Regions from separate parts of the Homo sapiens genome. Here regions 2, 3, 4, 5, 6 and 7 are each linked to region 1. Evidence: promoter capture Hi-C in 16 types of primary human blood cells and fetal thymus (Javierre and others, 2016). All regions are on one chromosome and are shown on one strand. Each heading gives the region's core, a stretch centred on a gene start or on the middle of the fragment in contact. The rest is flanking DNA. Distances are from core to core; before and after follow the strand shown. Region 1 holds the start of MDN1 (midasin AAA ATPase 1). Region 2 overlaps LOC105377891 (a long non-coding RNA gene). Region 3 overlaps UBE2J1 (ubiquitin conjugating enzyme E2 J1). Region 4 overlaps BACH2 (BACH transcriptional regulator 2). Region 5 overlaps BACH2 (BACH transcriptional regulator 2). Region 6 overlaps RRAGD (Ras related GTP binding D). Region 7 overlaps BACH2 (BACH transcriptional regulator 2).

Region 1 (3,036 bases), core at 212-2,711:
TGCCCGCCTCGGCCTCCCAAAGTGCTGGGATTACAGGCGTGAGCCAAGGCACCCAGCCCTAATTTTTGTATTTTTAGTAGAGACAGGGTTTCACCATGTTGGCCAGACTGGTCTCCAACTCCTTATCTCGTGATCTGCCTGCCTTGCCTTGAGCCACTGCGCCCAGCCCACAAGTGCACTTTTAATGTTATGGACTCTACTATTTTTTATGACTTCCAGAATATGCTATAACTTACACCCCATAGTTTAATATTCCCAATTGAACATTTTCTTCCAATATCTGTATTAAGAAAACTGCAAGGGGTGTCTTTGTCACACTTAGTGAGGATTTCCGCAGGCTAGAGTCCTACAAGGGGAATTGCTGGGGCAGAATGTTAACTAGTTAGGTATGAGCAGAACAGGAGAGCGCTCCCCACCCCACACATACCAGGACTATTGGGTGACAATCAAACGATGGTCAGGCGGTTCTTAACTGTTTCTCTAACGTTCACCGGGGCCAGCGAAAGGCAGTCTCCTAATAGAAAACACCTGAAACTGATCAGTAGCTTCCCAGTAAGATCTCAGGAGTGGGGAGAAGCAATGCAAGTTCCCCAAAGTATGCCAACATATAAAACTTCAAGTCAACAGGTCAAGCTGCGCACTTGGTTTCTCAAGTCGCCTGCTTGGCAGTCTTCCAAGTTGTACTTTCCTCCTTTTCTTTCCGTCCCGTTCTAAAGCTTTTTGATAAACTTTTACTTCTATTCTGAAACTTGTCTAGGTCTATCCTGCCTTATGCCCTTCGTGGAATTATTTCTTCTGAGGAGGCAAGAACTAAGGTTACTGCTGACCCCTACCTATACAGGGGGTAACTGCCACCGCTAACAAGAAGGGGAGAATCAGCTTTTCTTTCTTTTTTTGAGACAGTAAAAGTCTGCTGTGTCGCGCGGCTGGAGTGCAGCTGCACGATCTCGGCTTACTGTAACCTCCGTCTCCCGGGTTCAAGCGATTCTCCTGCCTCAGCCTCCCGAGTAGCTGGGACTACAGGCGCGCGCCACCACGCCCGGCTAATTTTTGTATTTTTAGTAGAGAAGGGGGTTTCACCATGTTGCCCAGGCTGGTCTCGAACTGCTAACCTCAAGTGATCTGCCCTCCTCGGCCTCCCAAAATGCTGGGATAAAGACATGCGCCACCGCGCCCGGCCGAGAATCAGCTTTTCTCTCACATCTGATCTTTCCGTGTGTTAAGGCAGAAGCAAGGCACGGTGGGCTGAGACTCACACGCCCCCTCTTTCCTCCCCGGCCTAACGCACTCTTCTTTCTGTCCCACCACGTGCTGTGTTCGCGAGTCCCCATCACTCCTGCATCCAAACCGACTAGATTTTTGTTTCCATTTCCCTCCCGGAAAAGGCGGGACAGCGAAGACTGGCGTTTCCGCCGCTGAGGGGCTGAGGCCGGGAGGGCGCAGCGTAGCCGTCCCGAGCTGATGACGTCAAACGCCGTGTGCTCACCCACGTGTGGTGCCCCTCTCCCGGTGTAGGCGCTGGAGCTGAGGACGCCTTTCCTGCGGGCGTAGTTGCTGGCTGCTCGGGCACTGGGACCTCGGCGGCTTGGGGACGCTGGCCGCGAAGTAGGGAGCGCAGGTGGCCGCTCGGGGTGAGGGCCCTGGGTCATGGAGCACTTCTTGCTGGAGGTGGCAGCCGCGCCGCTGCGGTTAATCGCAGCCAAGAACGAGAAGAGCCGCAGTGAGTTGGGCAGGTTCTTGGCCAAGCAGGTAAGACGTGAAGGGAGAGGGAAAGCGCCGGAACGACTGGGTCGCCCCACTAGTAAGCTTCCTGCGCTCCCCCGCCGATACTCGCCGCTTTAAGTGGGGAGTGGTGCAGCCTCAGGTCAAGCTGGCCCCCTCCTGTGGGCTGGCGCAGGTCGTGGAGGTTTCCGAGCGTGTTTGAGGCGATTGGAAGGAGTCTTTTGTTTTTATCTGGGGGAGCCTTCCAGTACCCTTCCCATCGCCTCTCACCCCTATGCAAGCGCTTTGGCTGCTTGTGGCAGAGGTGGCCTTCCCAAAGGAATGTGGTTTGTTTTTCTGAAATTGAGGTTGCGTTTCTGCCGTTTTGACAAGTGTACGTATCACCTAAGTGTGCGTAGTGCAGCCACTCCTGTTAGTTTGGGGAACCATCGACAAATACTGATTGCATTCCTGCTGTGCGTAAGGAACGGTGTGGCGCTGTGAGAAAGTGGATAGATAAATTCGTTACGATCTCTGCCATGAGGGAAATTTGCATCTGTTTTTGGAGACAGTTCGTAAACACTTACAACAGCTGAAGTACAGAGCAAGACAGCTCATACTCACTGTAACTAACTATACAAATTATAAGGTTAATTAGAGTTTTCTGGGAAATAGGTCTTCGGGCTTTTAAGAACCTTCTCATTGACTCCTTCTATCTGAGTTGAAGACACTTTTTTTTTTTTTTTGAGACGGAGTCTCGCTGTGTCGCCAGGCTGGAGTGCAGTGGCGCGATCTCGGCTTACTGCACCCTCCGCCTCCCGGGTTCAGGCGATTCTCCTGCCTCACCCTCTCAGTAGCTGGGATTACAGGCGAGCGCCACCATGCCTAGCTACTTTTTGTATTTTTAGTAGAGACGGGGTTTCACCATGTTGGCCAGGATGGTCTCGATCTCTTGACCTCGTGATCCACCCGCCTCAGCCTCCCAAAGTGCTGGGATTACAGGCGTGAGCCACGGGACAGGTGAGTGTGGTCCCAGGTACTTGGGTCCCAGGTGTGGCTAATTAAAAAAAAAATTTTTTTTTTGTAGTTGTAAGGTCCCCCTTTGTTGCCCCGACTGGTCTGGAACCCCTGGGCTCAAGTGATCATCCCGCCTTGGCCTCCCAAAGTGCAGGGATTGTAGGAGTGAGCCACCGTGTCCGGCCTAAATTTTTTTTTTTTTTTTTTTTTTTTTTTGAGACGGAGGCACGCTCTGTCGTCCAGACTGGAGTGCAATGGCCCACCCTCTCAGCTCACTGCAACCTCCGCCTCTCGAGTTCAAGCGATTCTTCTGTCTCA
Region 2 (3,036 bases), core at 272-2,771, 480 kb before region 1:
AAGCTCTTACCCGAAATTTCATGTCTCTTGGCCCTACATCTTATCCTGAAGCTTCAAAATCTTTGCATCATCCCTTTCTTGGATGTCCCTGTAATCCAGACAGTTTTCAGAGGCGAGATCTGAGTGATCCTCCCCCGTCCTGCAAATTCTGTTTAATGCTCATGTTCTGCCTTTCTTCCACCTACCCATGTTTACCCCTGCCCCAGAGTTCTGCATTCTTGCCATTTTTTTCCTCTACATCAGTGCTCCTTCTGTTATCTGCTCCATTACCTTACCTTCTACCTCTTCCTTCACTCAGATTCCTACCTTCCTGCCTTTCTCCATCTTTCCAGGCCCCCACTTCTCTCATTCATTCCCCCCCTCCTCTGCAGTGGGTCTAGAAGCTCCTTGCTGTCATATCACACAGCCCCCATCCCACCAGACCTTTCTTAATCATGGGATGCTATTCCCAGGCCCCTCATTGAAATGCCCTTTTCCTTACCTTCCTCAACTTCCCAGTCTCTGCTTGATTTTCTACCTTCCTGTTGGCTCCATTCCTGTCTTTTTCATAAACTCCTTGTTCTGTGCCCACATCCATCCCCAACCCAGCTATTCCTCAAACTTCAGCATTGAGGAAGTCAAACTTCCCTCCTTTTGACTCCACCCTTTACCAGAGTGATCTTAGCCTCCTCCTGCCTCCCAGGGCCAGTTCCCTCCTAGTCACACAGGCTAGAGGTCTCCATTCCCTCTTTCTCTTCTTCCTCCCTCTCCGTCTCCTCCCACAAGCAAATGACCCCTAAACCATAAGCGCTTCCCAGCCCTGCTCACTGCCTTAACATAGGCTGTAGGACTTGAGCTACTGTCTTATAGTCTCCAGCCTCTTCAGGCCCCTTCATATGGCCAATGCTGTGTTCTTTCCAAAACCAGATCTGATTATGCCTCTTTGGCAACTGGGGATCACTCATCGGCTTTCTACCCATGCAGCCAGGCTTTTCAGTGTTTCTGGGGAAATTAGAAGATAAACTCGGAGCATTTTCCTCAAGTACATCCTTCAGTACTTTGATTTTGGGTGTGGGAGAGGAACTTTTAGTCCTGATCGTCACAAATTGTTAAACTTTTTTAGTAAAATCAACCCATGTACTTCAAAGAGAACAAAAGAAGTTCAGGTGATTTTTTAACATGTAACAGGAAACTGCAAAGACATTTTATGCTTTGAAAAGGCAATTTGGGGCCATGTTCTCAGATCCCTAGGAAGTTAGCATTCCATTTTCTCTGCCATTCTGAGCACTTCACTGGAAAAGTTCAATGAGAATTTTGATCTGTGGATAAAATTACACCTTCATGCTGATTTCCCATGTCTACCTTTCCAGTCCCATATTCCACCACTGGCTGTCGCTGCTAACCATCTCAATTCCTGCACTTTCGCTACTCCAATTTTCCTGCCTGGAATGACCTTCCAACATTTTCTTTTCACAAAATCTCATCCTTCAGAATCCAGCTCTGTTGTCACCTCCTCCAGGAAGCCATCCCACATTCTCCTAAGCAAAGTCACTTGCCAGAAGACTTTTGTCCTATTCAGGCCCTTAGCATGGTGTGCTGTGAGGACTTCTTCACCGGTTCACCTTCCCCACTAGTCCAGGAGCCCTGACTTATGCAGTGTTTTATCTCCAAAAGTTAGAATAGTGCTAGTACATAGGTTGTGTATGCTCGAGGTGTGTCTGGAAAAAAAGAAAACAGGCAAGTAACAGGTACAAGGTCTTGGCCATTGGGAGGGGAAAGAAGGAAAAATCTACATTTTGAAAAAATGAGTCATGATCACAATGGCATTTTGTCACCATGGTACTTCAGTACTCCTTGCTAGCCATGACAGCAGGCACAATCCCCCATACCTTCCACTTCTGACCTATCCTTCTTGACATCACAACCTCTCACTCTTTCCCAACACTGCAAGATATGAATGCTATAGTCAGATGAAAGTGTAACCTCAAGGGGTCCTTCTGCATTAAAAGTCCAGCCACCTTCCCTCCTCTCTGACTCCTTCCTGGCCTTGAGGTTCAACTGAAATTCCACCTTCTCAGTGAAACCTTTTCTGGCTACTTTAACCTTCATAATTTGTTTTTCCTCTTAACATCTACAATACTTAAGTTCTTGTTAGAATTTAATTATGCATATTTTGAATTTTACAACATTTATTGGCTACCTTTATTACAGAAGTAATATATTTATATTACAGAAAATTTTTTTAAAAAGCAAAAGTAAAACCACTTATAGGCTCTTTATTTCAAGAGAACCACTTGAACACTGTGCATATAGCCTTCCAGATTTTTCCTATGCATGCACTGGCAATTTTTTTTCACAAATAGGATCCTATTGTAAATAGTTATACAAATTATTGTTAAACTATACTAACAAAATATTAATATATCAATATACATAAATTTTCATCACTAATTTTTTTCATTATTATTATTATTTTTGGTAGAGATGGGGTTTCACTATGTTGTCCAGGCTGGTCTCAAACTCCTGAGCTCAAGAAATTTGCCTGCTTCAGCCTCTCAAAGTGCTGGGATTATAGGCATGAGCCACCGTGCCCAGCCACCAATATTATTTTTGATGGATCCATGATATTCATATTTTATATATGAACCACCATTTATTTAGCCAATCATTTCCTGTAAGGCATTTGGATTTTTCCATTTTCTTTTTGCTATCATACAAAAAAGATCTGTACATTCTTAATTTTTTCATTAGTATAAATTATAACACATACAATTTCTATATAATTTTAAATATTAATATATAAAAGTAATAAAATCAAATACAAAATTACATTTTTCAATTGTTTCATGTATATTAGTTTTGACTCCTTATGTAGATTTAAGTTCCTTAAGGATACAGTCCAATGTTTCTTAATTTTTCACCTCAACATGTAACAGATGCTCAGTAGTGTATGTTGAAAAATTAGTTTATTTCATATACCATATTTTACTAGTTTATTTCATATAAGCTTTTAGATAATAGTGGCATCAATTCTTTACTATAGAAGAAGATCACTAT
Region 3 (3,036 bases), core at 273-2,772, 480 kb after region 1:
ACCACGCTTGGCTAAATTTTTTTTATTTTTATTTTTTGTAGAGACAGGGTTTCACTTTGTTGCCCAGGCTGGTCTCAAACTCCTGGCCTCAAGTGACCTTCCTACCTTAGCCTCCCAAGTGCTGGGATTACAGACATGAGTCACCATGCCTGGCCTCTTTTAGATTCTTAACTGAGCCTAGCTCCATACTAGGCACAGGGTAGGACATTAGTAAATCCTCTCCCCTCCCCTCCCCTCCCCCACTCCTTCCCTCCTCCCCTTCCCCCTCCCCTCTCCTTCCCCCCTCTCCTTCCCCCTTCCCCTCCCCACCCCTCTTCCCTCCCCATCCCTTCCCCCCTCCCCTCCCCACTTCCCTCCCTTCCCCCCTCCCCTCCCCTCTCTCCTCCCCCATCCCCTCTCCTCCCCCCTCCCCCCCTCTCCTCCCCTCCTCTCCTCTTTTTTTTTCTTTTCTTGGGGACAGGGTCTCACACTGTCACCCAGGCTGGCATGCAGCAATGCAGTCATAGTTCACTGTGGCCTTGAACTCCTGGGCTCAAGTAATCTTCCTGTCTTAGCCTCCCAAGTAGGTAGGACTAGAGGCACATGCCACCACTCCTGGCTAATTTTCTTTCTTTTCTTTTTTTGGTGACAGTGTCTCACTAAGTTGCTCAAGCTGGCCTTGAACTCCTGGCCTCAAGTGATCCTCCTGCCTCAGTCTCCCAGAGTGCTAGGATTACAGGCGTGAGCCACTTCGCTGGCCAGTAAAACTTTACATGTTAATTATTTAGATTTCACTTGTGCAACTCAGTTTCAAAAGGTGCTGTAAAACACCTTCTAAAAACAGCTTTTATTATTCAGCATCCAACAAGTATTTTTGGAGTCTATAAGGACAAAAAATCTGTGTCCCATGAGAGGTTACATTTAAAAAAAAATCTTTTTGGCCGGGCGCGGTGGCTCATGCCTGTAATCCCAGCACTTTGGGAGGCCAAGGTGGGCAGATCACAAGGTCAGGATATCGAGACCATCCTGGCTAACACGGTGAAACCCCGTCTCTACTAAAAATACAAAACATTAGCCAGGCCTGGTGGCAGGCGCCTGTAGTTCCAGCTACTTGGGAGGCTGAGGCAGGAGAATGGCGTGAACCCGGGAGGTGGATCTTGCAGTGAGCTGATATCACACCACTGCACTCCAGCCTGGGTGACAGAGCGAGACTCCATCTCAAAAAAAAAAAAAAAAAAAAAAAAAACAAACTTTTTAAGATAATCTCTAAAATTATTATATATAAATAGTATATTTTTACAGAAAGTATAAACATTAAGCACATGTATTTAATTTTCTAAATGCATTGTTTATTCCTCAGGCTAATGGTCGATTTGAAGTGGGCAAGAAAATCTGTTTGAGCATCTCAGGCCATCATCCTGAAACTTGGCAGCCTTCGTGGAGTAGTAAGTGTTAATTTATAGTGAATATAAATCTCATAACTTCAGTCAATTCATAGTTATGAAGTATAATACTCTGATTTTTTCTTTTTCCAGAATAAACCCAGTTGCTTTTACAAAGCAATTTAGATTGATATTTACTTTTTTATTTCAGTAAGGACAGCATTATTAGCCATCATTGGGTTTATGCCAACAAAAGGAGAGGGAGCCATAGGTTCTCTAGATTACACTCCTGAGGAAAGAAGAGCACTTGCCAAAAAGTAAGTTTTGCATTTCATTCTTCTTGAGGTCTGAATAGTATTCAGGGTAATGGCTATTAGGAGGTAGGGCCTACCTCTTACTATGTGACTTATTTTCTGAGTGACTGTAGCTACAGGATCTTATCTCAGTTTTGCTCTTTTAGGAATTCAGTTGTAATAATTTCCTTGGAGTGACCAGAATCTAAGTAATTTATTTAATGCTATCTAGTCTTAAAAAGTAGTTGATACTATTTCACTATTTTTAAAAAATTCAGTGGGAGATATATTCTCCTGGAAAACAATACCAGTCATTTGTTTCCACTATGGCATTATAGATGGAAAAGAACCAGAGCAATTATTTGTAGCTTTCCACAAGATTACAAACCTCTTGAGGGCCAAGAGGTAATCCACTTTATCCATCTTTGCATCTAGCTCATAGCAAGTGCTTAATAAATGATCTGGAATAAAGCAAAAGAGATTTTATCAAGTTGTGATTGCCCAGTGGCAATCACAAACAGAGAAGTGATGCCTTCTCTGTTTTTTTCAGGTGCAGGTGCACTTTTGTCTATATGACCAAGATCAGTCCTTCCATTCAGAGTAGCCCCTCTTTGAGTAGTGCTGATACCTAATTTTTGATGTTGATAATTTTTCTGCTCTGGAGTCTGCTGCCTACCACCCTTCAGACATATTATGTTAATTAAATTATATCATATTTTACCCTAGCACACCCCAGAGTAGGCCCTCTACAGATATTTGCTAAATCAGTTAGATTTTAGCATCTGGAAGATTTGGTAGACTTCTTGGTCTTATAAGCAACTTTTCTTTTTAAACCTTATTTCCAAACTATGGGTATGTACTTTATTTATACAGCTCTTCATAGATTACACTATGTACTTTGAATACATAGTATTTGTTTTCATTCGATTTACTACGTTGGTTTTTTTATCTTGATGCCTTTATCCAGTTGATTTCATGTGCGAGGTAAAAAAAAAAAAAAAAGAACTGGAGTTCTTGTTCTTCTAGGCTTCTCACTGTATATTCTAGATTCTCAGTCTATAATAGAAACCTTTTAAAAAATGATTTTGGGCCGGGCATGGTGGCTCACACTTGTAATCCCAGCTCTTTGGCAGGCCAAGACAGGTGGATTGCTTGAGTTCAGGAGTTCGAGACCAGCCTGGGTAAAATGGCGAAACTGCAGCTCTACAAAAAAATACAAAAATTAGCTGGGCGTGGTGGCACGTGCCTGTAGTCTCAGCTACTTAGAGACTGAGGTGGAAGGATTGCTTGACCTGGGGAGGTTGAGACTGCAGTGAGCCATGATTGTGCCACTGCACTCAAGCCTGTGGGACAGAGTTGAGACCTTGTCTCAAAAAAAAAAA
Region 4 (3,036 bases), core at 158-2,657, 460 kb before region 1:
TTTTGTATTTAGTTGACAGGAGTCTAACTTGGTACAATTATATCGGAAAACAATTTGCTGTTACCTAACCAAGTTCAACCTGCAAATAACTTACAACACAGCCATCTTACCCCTAGGTATACACCTAAGAAAAATGATTACCTATGTGCTTTAAGAAACATGAACAAAACAAAAAATAATTGATGCTGGCAAGGTTATGGAGAAAAAGGAACACTTACACACTCTCGGTGGGAGTGTAAATCAGTTCAGCCATTGTGGAAGACTGTGATGATTGCTCAAAGTCCTAAAGATAGAAATACCATTCAACCCAGCAGTTTCATTACTGTGCATATACCCAAAGGAATATAAATTATTCTAAGACACATACACGTGTATGTTCGTTGCGGCACTATTCACAATAAGCAAAGACATGTAATCAACCTAAATGCCCATCAGTGATAGACTGGATAAAGAAAATGTGGTACATACACCATGGAATACTATGCAGCCATAAAAAAGAATGAGATCATGTCCTTTGCAGGGACATAGATGGAGCTGGGGGCCATTATCCTTAAGCGGACTAACACAGGAACAGAAAACCAAACTGCACATTCTCACTTATAAGTGGGAGCTAAATGATGAAAACGCATGGACATATAGAGGGGAACAACGGACACTGAGACCTATTAGAGGGTGGGAAGAGGGAGAGAATCAGGGAAAATAACTAATGGATACCAGGCCTAATACCTGAGTGATGAAATAATCTGTATAGCATACCTCCATGACACAAGTTTACCTGTGTAACAAACCAGTACATGTGCATACCCCTGAACTTAAAAGAAAAAACATGGACAAACATATTCAAAGAAGCATTGTTCATAAGAGCAAAAAACTGGAAGCAACCCAAATAAATGCCCATCAACATTGAATCGAATCAGCACATTTTGCTGTGAGGTATTTATACACTGTGATACTATTTGGCAATGAAAAATCAACTAGTATAACCACATATAGAAGGGTGTGGAGAGGCAGCATTTCTTGGTGGTCAAGAGGAAGGATTGTGCCTGGGTTCAGATTTTGGTTCTGCCACTTATTGTGTGACCTTGGATGAATTTCTGAACTTCAGTGTACCTTAGTTTTCTCATCTGTACATCAGGGAAAATGATGTCTACCTGATAGTGTTGTTAGGAAGTTTAAATGAGTCAATGTTTGTGACATGCTTAGGAGAATGACTGGCAGACAATACATTCTATATGTGTTTGTTAAACAAATAAAAGTGCATCAAAATGGATGAATCTTACAAACAATATGGAAAGAAAGAAGCAAGATAGAAGAATATATACAGTGTGATTCTATTCATGTAAAGTTCAAAAGCATGCAAAACTAAATATGTTATTTAGGGATACATACATAGATGGTAAAACTATAAAGAAAATTAATATGATTTAATATGATTGTCACAAAAAGCAGTATAACAGCTACCTCCAGAGGTGAAGGAGTGGGTATGATAGAGAAGGGGCTCACTGGGGGCTTCTGAGGTCCTGGCAGTGTTTTATCTCCCAACCTGGACAGTGGTCCCAAGGATATTCTTTCTTCTTAATTGTTTTTAAAAACTGTCTATGTTTTTTATATATGTGTGACCTATTAGTAAACATTTTAAAGGATTTATGTGAGTTGTTATAGTAGCAAGATGACATTAAATAGAAATAACTGTAAATTGCTACATTTTAGTTAAAAATAATTGTTCAAGTGCACATGGGAACACTTGCTTGGTATTATTTCCTCCACAACATTGTGAGCCACCAGTGCAGTGTGATTCTTACAGAAGGCGACACCTCCTTAAGGCCACATTAAGAGAGCTGTCCCCTTTAGATCAGGGAATGTAATGTTCTCACTCAACTACTCTCAGGTCTGGATGTCCCATGTGTGGGATGCTATGTCTTGTCCCAAGGGATTTATTTTAAGAAAGATTTTCACCACAGAGGGAGCATTTTCTGTGATAAAGATGTTTAGGGGTCTGGAAACCTATCAGTTCTAAGAGTGGCCAAAGGAAGTGGGGATTTTCAACATGGAGAAGAGGAGATGTTGGGAGAGAAAGAGTGTCTTCCATCACTAGAAGTGGAAGCAGCCTTTCCTTGTTGCTTCCCTCTCTGTAATATACAAGTCCCTCCCTGTAATGTCTACCCTTGGAGGCAGGTTTCAAGTCCTGGATACTGGAGATGCCCAAGCAGAGGCTGTGGGACCTCCCTTAGACTTGACTGGGGCCACAATACCCACTGCCTGGTCCCTGGACCAGCAGCATCGGCATCACCTGGAGCTTGTTAGAAATGAAGTCTCAGGGCCACCCACACCTACTGAGTCTGAATCTGCACTTTCTCAAGGTGCCCCTGGGGTCTCACATAAACATCAAAATTTGAGAGGCACTGGGCTAAATGTCTCTAAGATCCCTCATGGTTCTTAAGATTTAATGATTTTATAGAATAAACTGTATGTTCAACTGAAAATTATCAGTTCATATGGTGACATTATCAATTTAAAACACCTTGGGATGTTACATGTCCACAGAACCATGTAAGTATTTGTTGCTAAATTAGTTTTAAATGGATTTGTCCAGTTTCCCCCGATGTCAAAGTTAGGTTGCTTATGTATTTGGGCACCTATAAGAATTAAAATATTACATAACGTTGTATTTTCTTCTTTCTAACATACAGGATTAGATTCTTGCTTTAAAATTCTCCATTAATGTCTTCAAATTTTTCTTTTATATTCATTGAAAATTCAAAAGCAGATTAGGGTTCTGAATACCTGTTAAGAATACTCAAAAGGGATATTTAAATAAATATATCTCATTAATACATTGATTTTATATTTAGCATATTTTTTCTTCTTATACATAGTCCATATTTTGACCTTATGGGAACCTTTGAAGTCTGAGTATTTTATAATGATTCTCCACAATACCTCTTTATCTTTTAGATTCTAGATCTGAGATCAGGCAAGTAAAATAGTTTTACCTTTTTCCCCTCAAAAGGCCATGACTAACAAGCTCATTTACTT
Region 5 (3,036 bases), core at 321-2,820, 430 kb before region 1:
TGTGATTCAAACAGGTAGAGAGCAATTAATTTAAAAGTGGCCTAAAACCCACCTTCCTCTACTACCTTTGAGGGGCATTATACCATTATATGATCCAGGATTTATATAGCAGATTATTTTATCACTACTCCCTTAGAGCAACCAATCAATCAGCTTCATTTTATTAGGATGCTTTAATATACCCATTTTAAAAATGTTTATTTAATATTTTTAAGTAATTTTTGAAAAGATCTAGGAAGATTCACATACTCATTTTTTCATGAACAAATTATGCTGTATACTTAATTGAGTCTGTCTGTAGGGATCATTTATTTCTATTCATCAACTCTTTACCAAGCTTCATACTAGATATTGAGATGATAGTCTATTGATTTTGTTTCTCTCTCTCATGTTTTTCTAGTATGTCTTATCTTTTGGGGTTTATTTCTGGCCCTGGAGATCATTCTTTTATGTCAGTTCTCAGCTAGTTGTGATTTGTTGCTAAATTACCTGCATTCAAGTTTTTATAAATGAATGTAGATATTTTGAAAACTATTTCTTTTAGGATACTAAACAGTAAGACAAAGATACACTGCACAATTGTGTACAAAAGGTCTTTTGGAATATGACTTCTTTGTTAAAAGCAATTTGTGCCATGATAGTTTAAAAAAAATAGTTCGGCAATGATGTTTTCATTTATGACTATGTACATACTGCATTTGAGCAGAGAGAAGTTTTTTATTATGACTAAGGCCTCTGTGTAACCAACTTCAGGTCAAATATGAAATATATGGTGTAACAAGTGCTGTGTTTTCTCTTTAAAATACACTTGGATTCTTCCACGAGGTATATTAAAAATGCTTTGACATCATTATTTCATCTTGAGTTACCCTTTCATTCACTAGCTTGGTTGGAGAAAATTAACTCTTCAATACATGATACAGAAAATCTGTTGATGCAGCCTCCCTCCAGTTCTTAGTATTTAATTTCATGAGGGACATAGCACTTTTCCCCATGTAATTACAGATTGGTAGAGTTGAGCAAGACCTTAAACATCCTGAAGTTTAACACCCATCAAATGCAGATACCTCTTCTAAGGTATCCTAATTTCTATATCGAAAATAATTCTAATTATCAGTTTACTTGGCAAATCTGCCATAATAAAGTCTTTTTCAAAGTTATCTATGCCCAGTTCCCCTCAATATTTCTCATAATATTAGTTCCACAGTCATTCTGATCTCACTCCTTTTTGCTTTCTCCAGTTTATCAGAAAGTTCCTTAAAAGGTAGTGGACAAATTATAGAAGTACCTCCCTTTTTTTTTTGAGGCAAGATTTCACTCCTGTCATCCAGGTTGGAGTACAATGGCGCAATCTTGGCTCACTGCACCCTTCACCTCCCAGGCTCAAGCAATTCTCCTGCCTCAGCCTCCCAAGTAGCTGGGTCTACAGTTGCATACCACCATGCCTAGCTAATTTGTGTATGTCTTGTAGAGACGAGTTTTGCCATGTTACCCAAGCTGGTCTTGAACTCCTTACCTCAAGTGGTCCGCCTGCTTTGGCCTCCCAAAGTGCTGGGATTATAGGCGTGAGCCACTGCACCTGGCCCTAAAGCTACTCTTTCTGAGCAGTTTGAGAGGGACTGTGGCTTATCTGGCCTTGAGAACAGTGTCTTTATTAATGCAGCCTAAGAGTACATTTTTGCAAACCCATCACACTGCCTGTATTGAATCAAGAGGCTGCTGGACCTCCATGTACTGACCATACAGGACCTCACATTTGAGCCTAGTAAACTTGACTATATTCATTTTGGTCTATTTTTAACCTTGTGAGAACTTTTGTAATCCTGTTTCTGGCATCCCTGGTGTTGTGTTTTTGTACCAATACAGCTTCTGGATCATTGTCTCAATCATTGATAAAAATGGGCAAATACAGACTTTCTGTCCAGAGTGATAATCATATCCATTACTTTTGCTTTAGATAAGAGTGTTGCTGTTGATCATCTTTGCCTGGGAAGTTGAATGATAAAGCCAGAAGAAAGCATGCTTTCTGATCATTGTAAGTTTTACTTTTAAGGAAAGAGACTAAAAAAATTTAGCAGGAAATTTAAATTTTATTAATATCATCTCATATACTTTAGAAGATCTAAAACTGTTAAAAGAAACAAAATGGTTTACACTGGAGCCTGGTTATAACCTTTCTTTGGTAGCCCATAGCTGTGGGGCCCATAGCTTTGGGGCCCAAAGCTCTCTTTGATTTGAGTCAGAGACCTTCCCATGTGCCCAGGAATTTTGATTATGGCAGGTGATATTATCAAGTCTTCATCAGATTTGGCTGGAGGGAAAAGCTGTCTGTCACCAAGTTGTGTGAATCTTTGTATTGCTAAAAAGGATACCCGGGCAGTCTTAAAACTGGTGCCTTATGTTATTTGAACTTTAAAATATTGTGATGTTCATGTTTGCTCAGGCTGGCTACTCCAGTTTTGTTACAACATAGTGCTGCTCAGACCATGGTTGAAAGTTTGATGCTAAAAAGCACAGTGTATTTGAGCATAGTCAATTCTAAAAAAAATTTTGTTTTCTTTCTTCCTTCCTTCTCCTTTCCTTTCTTCTTTCTGTCTTGAAATCTGTGGATTGAACTTTCCCACCCCTGGAAAAACAACTCAGAAAGTATATCATGTGTCATCACTATCATCTTCCTTTTATCAGTGCAGGTTTATAGAAAGTGTTCTCATATCATCCTGAATCATTTCTACAAACTATAAAACAAAATTAACTTTCCATTACAATCCTAACAATTGTAATAAATGCTCCTATTAGAAGCTTTTACTTCCATCCTGTGAAGTATATCATGCTGAGGGGAAAGTTGCATCTTCATTAGTCACCCATGACTTACTCCAGGTGTTACCCTCTAAGTTAGAAAGAGAGAGGGCAAAATACCCTGGTGACACATACGTTTTTTAAGGGAAAAAATTCTGAAAGCAAAAGGGTTCTCTCTTTTTTTAATATGACTAGCAAAAGAGTGTTGATTAAGATGTGTCAAGCAGGTGCTGGGTATGT
Region 6 (3,036 bases), core at 324-2,823, 410 kb after region 1:
GATCACACCTGGGCTTGGAGAATGAGTGCAAGATTTTATTGAATAGAAGTAGCTCTCAGCAGATAGGGGAGCCAGAAGGGAGACGGTTTTTCCCTGGAGTCAGGCAGCTGTTTTCTGACCACTCCGGCCAAACTGGTGTGCTCCCAACGTCCTCTCGACGTCTAACTGCTTGAATCTTCTTCCACCAATCCACTCCTCTCGATGTCCAGCCGCTTGTGTGTTCCTCCACTGATGTGCTCCTCTCGACGTCCAGCTGCTTCTGTGTCTGCCTTGCTTGGGTCTTGGGTTTCTGTAGGCACAGGATGGGGATGTGGCAGGCCACGGTGGTCTTGCAACATTTGGGCCGGAAATGCCTGACCTCACCTAGGCCTGTGGGGGTGCAGCCCTAGCCAGGGACCATGCCCTTCTCTCTGCCTGGCACTTCCCTTCTCCCTTCCATACCGTTTAAAGGGACCACACCCTTCCCTTCCCAGCACTCCCCTTATCATTAGGACTGCTACTGAATACATATGTTAAGGAAATATTCATATGTGGTATTTATCATGTTTTTTAGTTATTTGCCAGTGTGACTTGAGAGGATTTCATAAAGATTTAGTTTTCACGCTAAATAAAAGAATCACCTTCAAAAATCTTTATGCCTTTGAAAAATATGTGTTCTGTTTGCATTTAATTTTCCTTACTAAGTAGTTAATCAAATGGACAGTGAATCTTCGTGATTTTTGCATAGCTTTTGTTAGTAGTAGTATTAGTCATATGATTCATTCCCACTTGGGTTGGAATTTCTTATTGAACTCCTGGGTCTTGAATGTATAAGTAGTTCCATTGATCAACGTAAGCTTCAGAAATTTAAAGGAGCCACAGAGAAAGCTGCAAATAGAAACACACCAGGGGCCTCTTCCTAAAACCATAAGCACATAGACGCTTAAGCGTTTGTTGATTCCACAGAATACTAATAGCGAAGAAATTCTAATTTTCCCTTAAGGTTGAGTGAGCCTCTTACTATAGTCACATTCCACTGAAGACCCTCTCGTTGCCTAGGCTTGGGGTGGGAAAAAAGAAGGGGAGTGTGTTTGTGTGCCTGCGTGTGTCCTGTGCGTGTGTCCTTGTGTGCCTGTGTGTGTGTCCGTGTGTATGCGTGTATGCTGATAGAGGAGGAAATGAAGGCTCATGGGCAAGGGGACATGTATGGGGTCACATAGCTAGTAAATGGAGAGTTGGGACTTGAATCCTAGTCTGACACTAACCTAGTACTTTTTCAACCATTCCATTTGCCATCACTTCGCCACTATGTTATCTCTTTTTTTTTTTTTTTTTTTTTTGAGACGGAGTCTTGCTCTGTCACCCAGGCTGGAGTGCAGTGGTGCGATCTCGGCTCACTGCAAGCTCCGCCTCCCAGGTTCACGCCATTCTCCTGCCTCAGCCTCCCCAGCAGCTGGGACTACAGGCGCACGCTGCCACACCTGGCTGATTTTTTTGTATTTTTTTTAGTAGAGACGGGTTTTCACCGTGTTAGCCAGGATGATCTCGATCTCCTGACCTCGTGATCCGCCCACCTTGGCCTCCCAAAGTGCTGGGATTACAGGTGTGAGCCACCGTGCCTGGCCACTATGTTATCTTAATTCTTGCATTAAATAGTTTATTTTCCTGTTTTGAGCCTATTCAAAGATGCTACCTCTCAGAGAACTCTCCTTAATTATAATACTTCTCAATAGAATTTCTGAAGTGCATTTCATATGATATCTCATTCTTCCTGTAGAGATCCTTGAGCTTAGGATGGCAGGGCCAACCTTAAGAGCTGTGTAAGGAGGTGAACATTGGCTTTCAATTCCCATTTTCCTGATTTCTGGTTTCTTCTTTGTTGTAAGCATTCCTAACCCTCAGATCAGTCAGGCAGGGTCCCCAGGCAGCCCTGTTGTACTCGAGGCACTAATCCATCTTTTTCTCCCTTCTTTTTTTACTAAGGCCTGTTGGTTTTTGACAGGGCTCTGCTGGTTACTGGATAATTCCGGATTAAGTGATTAGCCTTCAGGTGTTAAAGACTGATAATGGCTCAATTTGATGACCCCTCCCCATAGTGCTGTTCCTTGGGTGATTGAATTTCCTGGGGTCTACAGCAGTCCAGTTCGAAGGCTGAGATCTCTGGAAAATCTGGGTATTGATAGCACCAAGTGGAGGAGAGGTGAGGTCTATTTGGTGTCCCTGACCACAGTAAATAAACTTCACCTAGGCATAAAGCTGATCCTCTTGATACCCAGTTCCAAGTGCTGATCTGGGCCAAAGTCAGACATGAATTTTCTTTTTAAAGCTTCAGTTAATTTAGCCTCAAATTCTGCTCAGTCACTTTCATGTAATCATCCCAACAAACATCTATTGAGTGTTTGTTGTGGGTAAGCACTGAGGCCTCAGTTTGTTTTAACAACAATTTTAATTTTGTTAAGCTACAAACTGCAAAATCGTGTGTTTGTATTTTTCTATACTTTGTGTTACACAGGCCATTGGGCCCAAATTTTAGACTAATAGGAAAAAGCCCCCTTTGGAATATAATATTAAAATTTTACAGAAAGGCAGAAGTTGCTTACCAATACCTAATATCCCTTCAAATGACAACCGTTTTTTATTCTTCAAGCACGTGTGTAATAACCCATATGGGAAAAATGGCAAAAGGCCACATTGATGTCTTCTAAATATAGAGAATAAAGATTTAAATCAAGAAGTTGCCAGGCTCAGTGGCTAATGCCTGTAATCCCAACACTTTGGGATGCCAAGGTGGGAGGATTGCTTGAGCCCAGGTGTTCAAGACCAGCCTGGACAACATGGCGAGACCCTGCTTCTAACCACCATCCCCCAACAAAAAAAATGAAAAAATTAGCTAGGTGTGGTGGAGGTGGTGTGTGCCTGTAGTCCTCGCTACTTGGGAGGCTGAGGCAGAAGGATCACTTGAGCCCAGGAGTTTGAGGCTGCAGTGAGCTATGATTGAGCCACTCACTGAGCTCCAGCCTGAGAGACAGAGTGAGACCCTCTCTCTCAAAAAAAAAA
Region 7 (3,036 bases), core at 141-2,640, 360 kb before region 1:
GAGGGATGATGTTTAAGATGTAGTATACTAATATACAGAATGTCATCTTAGGTAATAGTGAGGTGGTGAGGGAAGTGGAATGAAGCTGGGAAATTCAGTGTTAGAGCTGACATTTCATTCTCTCCGAGGTTTGTGAAAAGGCCACAGCAAACTTTGCATTTCCCCAGGAAGGAGGGCGGAGGTTCGGTTGGTATCACACCCTGCACATTATTTAAACACTAGCTTGTTGATTTTCTCTTCTGTGAAGAGCAGTTATAGAAAGCGTGTTTCTGGCTGACTTCATCCTGGTTCCCTGCTATTTTGGTCTACAGCACTTGGGAACAGGGAAAGTCCGGGTACCTGCTCTGTGCTGAGAACAAAAGTGGACATTTTCTTGACCAAAAGTGGCTTCTGGCATCCTTTTTCAGAAGCAGTTTTTCAGTGAAGGAAGAGATGTTTCAAGGCCAATATCTAGAAAGAGTACCTAGGTTTATGATTCACAGTACCTTCTTATCAGCTTTAGAGGTCCTTAAGAGTGAGGATATGACATGGGATCTGTTAAGGATGGCATTTCCCCCATGAGGAAAGTGAAGCCCAGAGAAAGCCTGCGACAGCCCAGAGTTGAGGTTAATCAGTGGCAGAACCAGAAACCCCATGTCCTAATGCCTCCTCTAGCATTCTGCATAAGCTTCACAGCCTTCAACCCAGGGTGTAAGTTGGGGGAGATTTCATACGATCCGATCCACATTTCGTGCATTACGTTTCACCAGAGGCCCAAGGAGCTAACGTAGGCAATGGTGTCAGAGACCCAAGTCCTAATCAGAATTCTACCACTTACTAACTGGAAGGTCCTGGGGATGTTAACCTCCTAAATCTCAGTTTCCTCGTTTGTAAAAGAGGTAATTATAAATAGTTCATTGAGTTGTTGTGGGAACTCACGTCATAACATTTGAAAAGCTTAGTATGGGATCTGCTGTACGGTAGGTGCTCAATAGATGATAGTTTTTTTATGGGTCAGGTGCTGTGCTACCCACTGGAAATACAAAGAAAAAATAAGATACCATCCCTGCCCTCAAGTAGTCTGCAGTGTAGTTGGGAAGACAGACATACATGTGAATAAAATAGTGTGCATTGAATGTAATGAGAGCAGCAAGGTGGTCCATAAAGCGAGCAGACTGCAGTTGTTTGAGGAGGCTTCAGAATGAAGTGTTGCACAGATTTTTGAAGATGAATAATAGTGTTAAGGCAGGCAAAGATTCTTCCTTTCAGAAGGAGAAAAGAGTACATAATGTGCTAATACCTGGACCCATGAAATAATATTTTAATATTAACATATTAAATTAACATATTAACATGGAGTTGGAATCAGTTTACAGTGCTGTGGTCTAAAGTCTCCAGCCAGAGAAGCCAGAAGGACGGCAGAAAGGAGGACAATCTAAGTGGCTTGGAGGCTACTCTGGGTGGATATGGGTCAATCCTGAAAGGTTTTTAAGCTGGGAAGTAATATGGTGATATTTGTGTTCTATAAAGATTACTCTGTGGCTACGTGAAGCATGAACTGGAGGAGGCAGGAGCAGGAGGGCTGGTAAGACATAATGAGGGCATTGCATCTGGTTTGGGCAATTGGACTCTGTCACCAAAACTGATTTGGAAGTGATGATGTTGAGCAGTTCTGACGCTTGTAGAAAAAGTGGAAGGAGGTAAGGGTAGGTGGGGATACACACACATTTTTTGGATGGGCCCCTCTTTTCTGCCCCTACATCCCTCTCCTCCGGTGTGTCGTTTCCCTGATCTACTTCAACCTGCAGATCTATCTAGCAGGCACCTCACTTGGGGATTTGTTCCCATACCAGCAAGAAGCTTATAAATTCCTCTGTTAGGCACCTTAAGCTGGTTGAGGTTGTCCAGGTGCCGTGAGGTGCCTCAGAGCTGCCCCTTCCCAGTGTGCACTTTCCACAGCTATCTCCTGTTTTTCGACCACTGAACTCTCAAACTCTCAGTATTTGCATATTCTTGTTTCCTGTAAATTTGCTCCCTCCTTCACTAATCTCTGCTCGCCCTGAGCTCCAGAATTGTCATTCCTGGAGACCTTGGTTAACATCTGAAACTCCTGCTTTGCTATGTGTTTTAAGAATGTACATGTTGGATATGTGATAAAATCAGTACAGCCACTGAAGGGGAAATGAGAACAGGGCTTGGAAGGAAGAAATTTGTTACATTCACAGGTCCCATAGAGGCGTGTCACCACATGCTACGCAGGGCCACAAGGGAAAACACCCGTGTTAGTCAGGAGGCAGAAGGCAGGAGCCAGGGGAGAGCTTGGGCCAGCCACAGCCTTTATTGGAGTTTCCAAGGGAAAGGCAAGGCAGGGCAGGGTTAACAGTTTAGAATTGCTAGTTGAAGTAGTTTGGTTAGGCTCCAAGCTTTCTGGGTGGTCCCTGCTTGCTTGGTACCTGGCTGTGGTATAGTAAAGGCAGAGAAATATTGCCTCTGAGGGCCAGATAGAGGAGGGGTGTCTCTAGATTGGTGAATTTTCTTGTCAAAGGCATGCTACCAGCCGGGCTCTTTGTTATCTCTGAGAATCGGCTAGCCTTGAAAGAGACAGTCTCTCTCTAGCCAGAAAGGTAGTTTTAAGATGTCAAAACATCTAATATGCAGAAAATACAAAATATGTAAAATACATAATGATACCTTCTATTCTTAGTCAACCTGTTTGCCTGTTTATTGATCTGAGATCTGATTTCCCAACCCCCAGCCACTCACCCCCCACCGCCCCAACACTGAGAATTTTGAAAAATTCTCTTTCAAAAGAAGGGATTAGGTTTTTTCCACCAAAAAGTTGTTTTTAATATGAGAAGTCAAGCCTTTTTGACATTTCTTATTAGTTAATATTCTTTCCTTACCAGTTAATTGTTCATTTGTTGTTTTTCTTCTGTCTTATACAGGCAGTTGTGAAAACAAAATGGTTGTATAATTTACCTTTAAAACCTACCAAGAGAGTTTCTTATGATTTCAGTGTAATAGGAAAACCATTGTATAAATGAGAACTCTCAACTT

The links. The method cuts DNA at HindIII sites, captures the fragments that hold promoters and counts their contacts. A CHiCAGO score of 5 or more calls a contact.
Region 2: a fragment that was not itself captured here is called in contact with the fragment with the promoter of MDN1 in region 1 in 2 of 17 cell types (activated CD4 T cells and fetal thymus); the score reaches 5.3 in activated CD4 T cells.
Region 3: a contact is called between a fragment that was not itself captured here and the fragment with the promoter of MDN1 in region 1, in 1 of 17 cell types (neutrophils). The highest score is 6.9, in neutrophils.
Region 4: a contact is called between a fragment that was not itself captured here and the fragment with the promoter of MDN1 in region 1, in 2 of 17 cell types (activated CD4 T cells and total CD8 T cells). The highest score is 6.4, in activated CD4 T cells.
Region 5: a contact is called between a fragment that was not itself captured here and the fragment with the promoter of MDN1 in region 1, in 2 of 17 cell types (total B cells and activated CD4 T cells). The highest score is 5.4, in total B cells.
Region 6: a fragment that was not itself captured here is called in contact with the fragment with the promoter of MDN1 in region 1 in 1 of 17 cell types (erythroblasts); the score reaches 5.4 in erythroblasts.
Region 7: a contact is called between a fragment that was not itself captured here and the fragment with the promoter of MDN1 in region 1, in 1 of 17 cell types (activated CD4 T cells). The highest score is 5.3, in activated CD4 T cells.

What each region holds. Positions count from the first base shown.
Region 1 is chr6:89,818,219-89,821,254 of GRCh38, reverse strand. MDN1 (midasin AAA ATPase 1) reads left to right here and starts at 1,461. Exons shown (of 102, transcript NM_014611.3): 1 at 1,461-1,749. The coding sequence starts at 1,648. RefSeq lists enhancers at 524-1,143, 1,144-1,763, 1,418-1,807, 2,384-3,003, 3,004-3,036. The HindIII fragment of the contact is 1,090 bases long and covers 719-1,808 here.
Region 2 is chr6:90,300,863-90,303,898 of GRCh38, reverse strand. All of the region lies in intron 1 of LOC105377891 (a long non-coding RNA gene), which reads right to left. Among named protein-coding and RNA genes, the nearest start is that of BACH2, 5.5 kb to the right of the region's middle. RefSeq lists a cis regulatory region at 751 and an enhancer at 679-823. The HindIII fragment of the contact is 2,935 bases long and covers 54-2,988 here.
Region 3 is chr6:89,336,847-89,339,882 of GRCh38, reverse strand. UBE2J1 (ubiquitin conjugating enzyme E2 J1) reads left to right here. Exons shown (of 8, transcript NM_016021.3): 4 at 1,340-1,424; 5 at 1,573-1,678. Among named protein-coding and RNA genes, the nearest start is that of UBE2J1, 14 kb to the left of the region's middle. The HindIII fragment of the contact is 6,108 bases long and covers 1-3,036 here.
Region 4 is chr6:90,279,952-90,282,987 of GRCh38, reverse strand. The region is part of intron 1 of BACH2 (BACH transcriptional regulator 2); the gene reads left to right. Among named protein-coding and RNA genes, the nearest start is that of BACH2, 15 kb to the left of the region's middle. The HindIII fragment of the contact is 6,848 bases long and covers 1-3,036 here.
Region 5 is chr6:90,251,512-90,254,547 of GRCh38, reverse strand. It overlaps BACH2 (BACH transcriptional regulator 2), which reads left to right. Exons shown (of 9, transcript NM_021813.4): 3 at 1,958-2,035. Among named protein-coding and RNA genes, the nearest start is that of BACH2, 44 kb to the left of the region's middle. RefSeq lists an enhancer at 2,864-2,953. The HindIII fragment of the contact is 2,462 bases long and covers 340-2,801 here.
Region 6 is chr6:89,403,637-89,406,672 of GRCh38, reverse strand. All of the region lies in intron 1 of RRAGD (Ras related GTP binding D), which reads left to right. Among named protein-coding and RNA genes, the nearest start is that of RRAGD, 7.1 kb to the left of the region's middle. The HindIII fragment of the contact is 1,469 bases long and covers 839-2,307 here.
Region 7 is chr6:90,175,294-90,178,329 of GRCh38, reverse strand. The region is part of intron 4 of BACH2 (BACH transcriptional regulator 2); the gene reads left to right. Among named protein-coding and RNA genes, the nearest start is that of BACH2, 120 kb to the left of the region's middle. The HindIII fragment of the contact is 903 bases long and covers 939-1,841 here.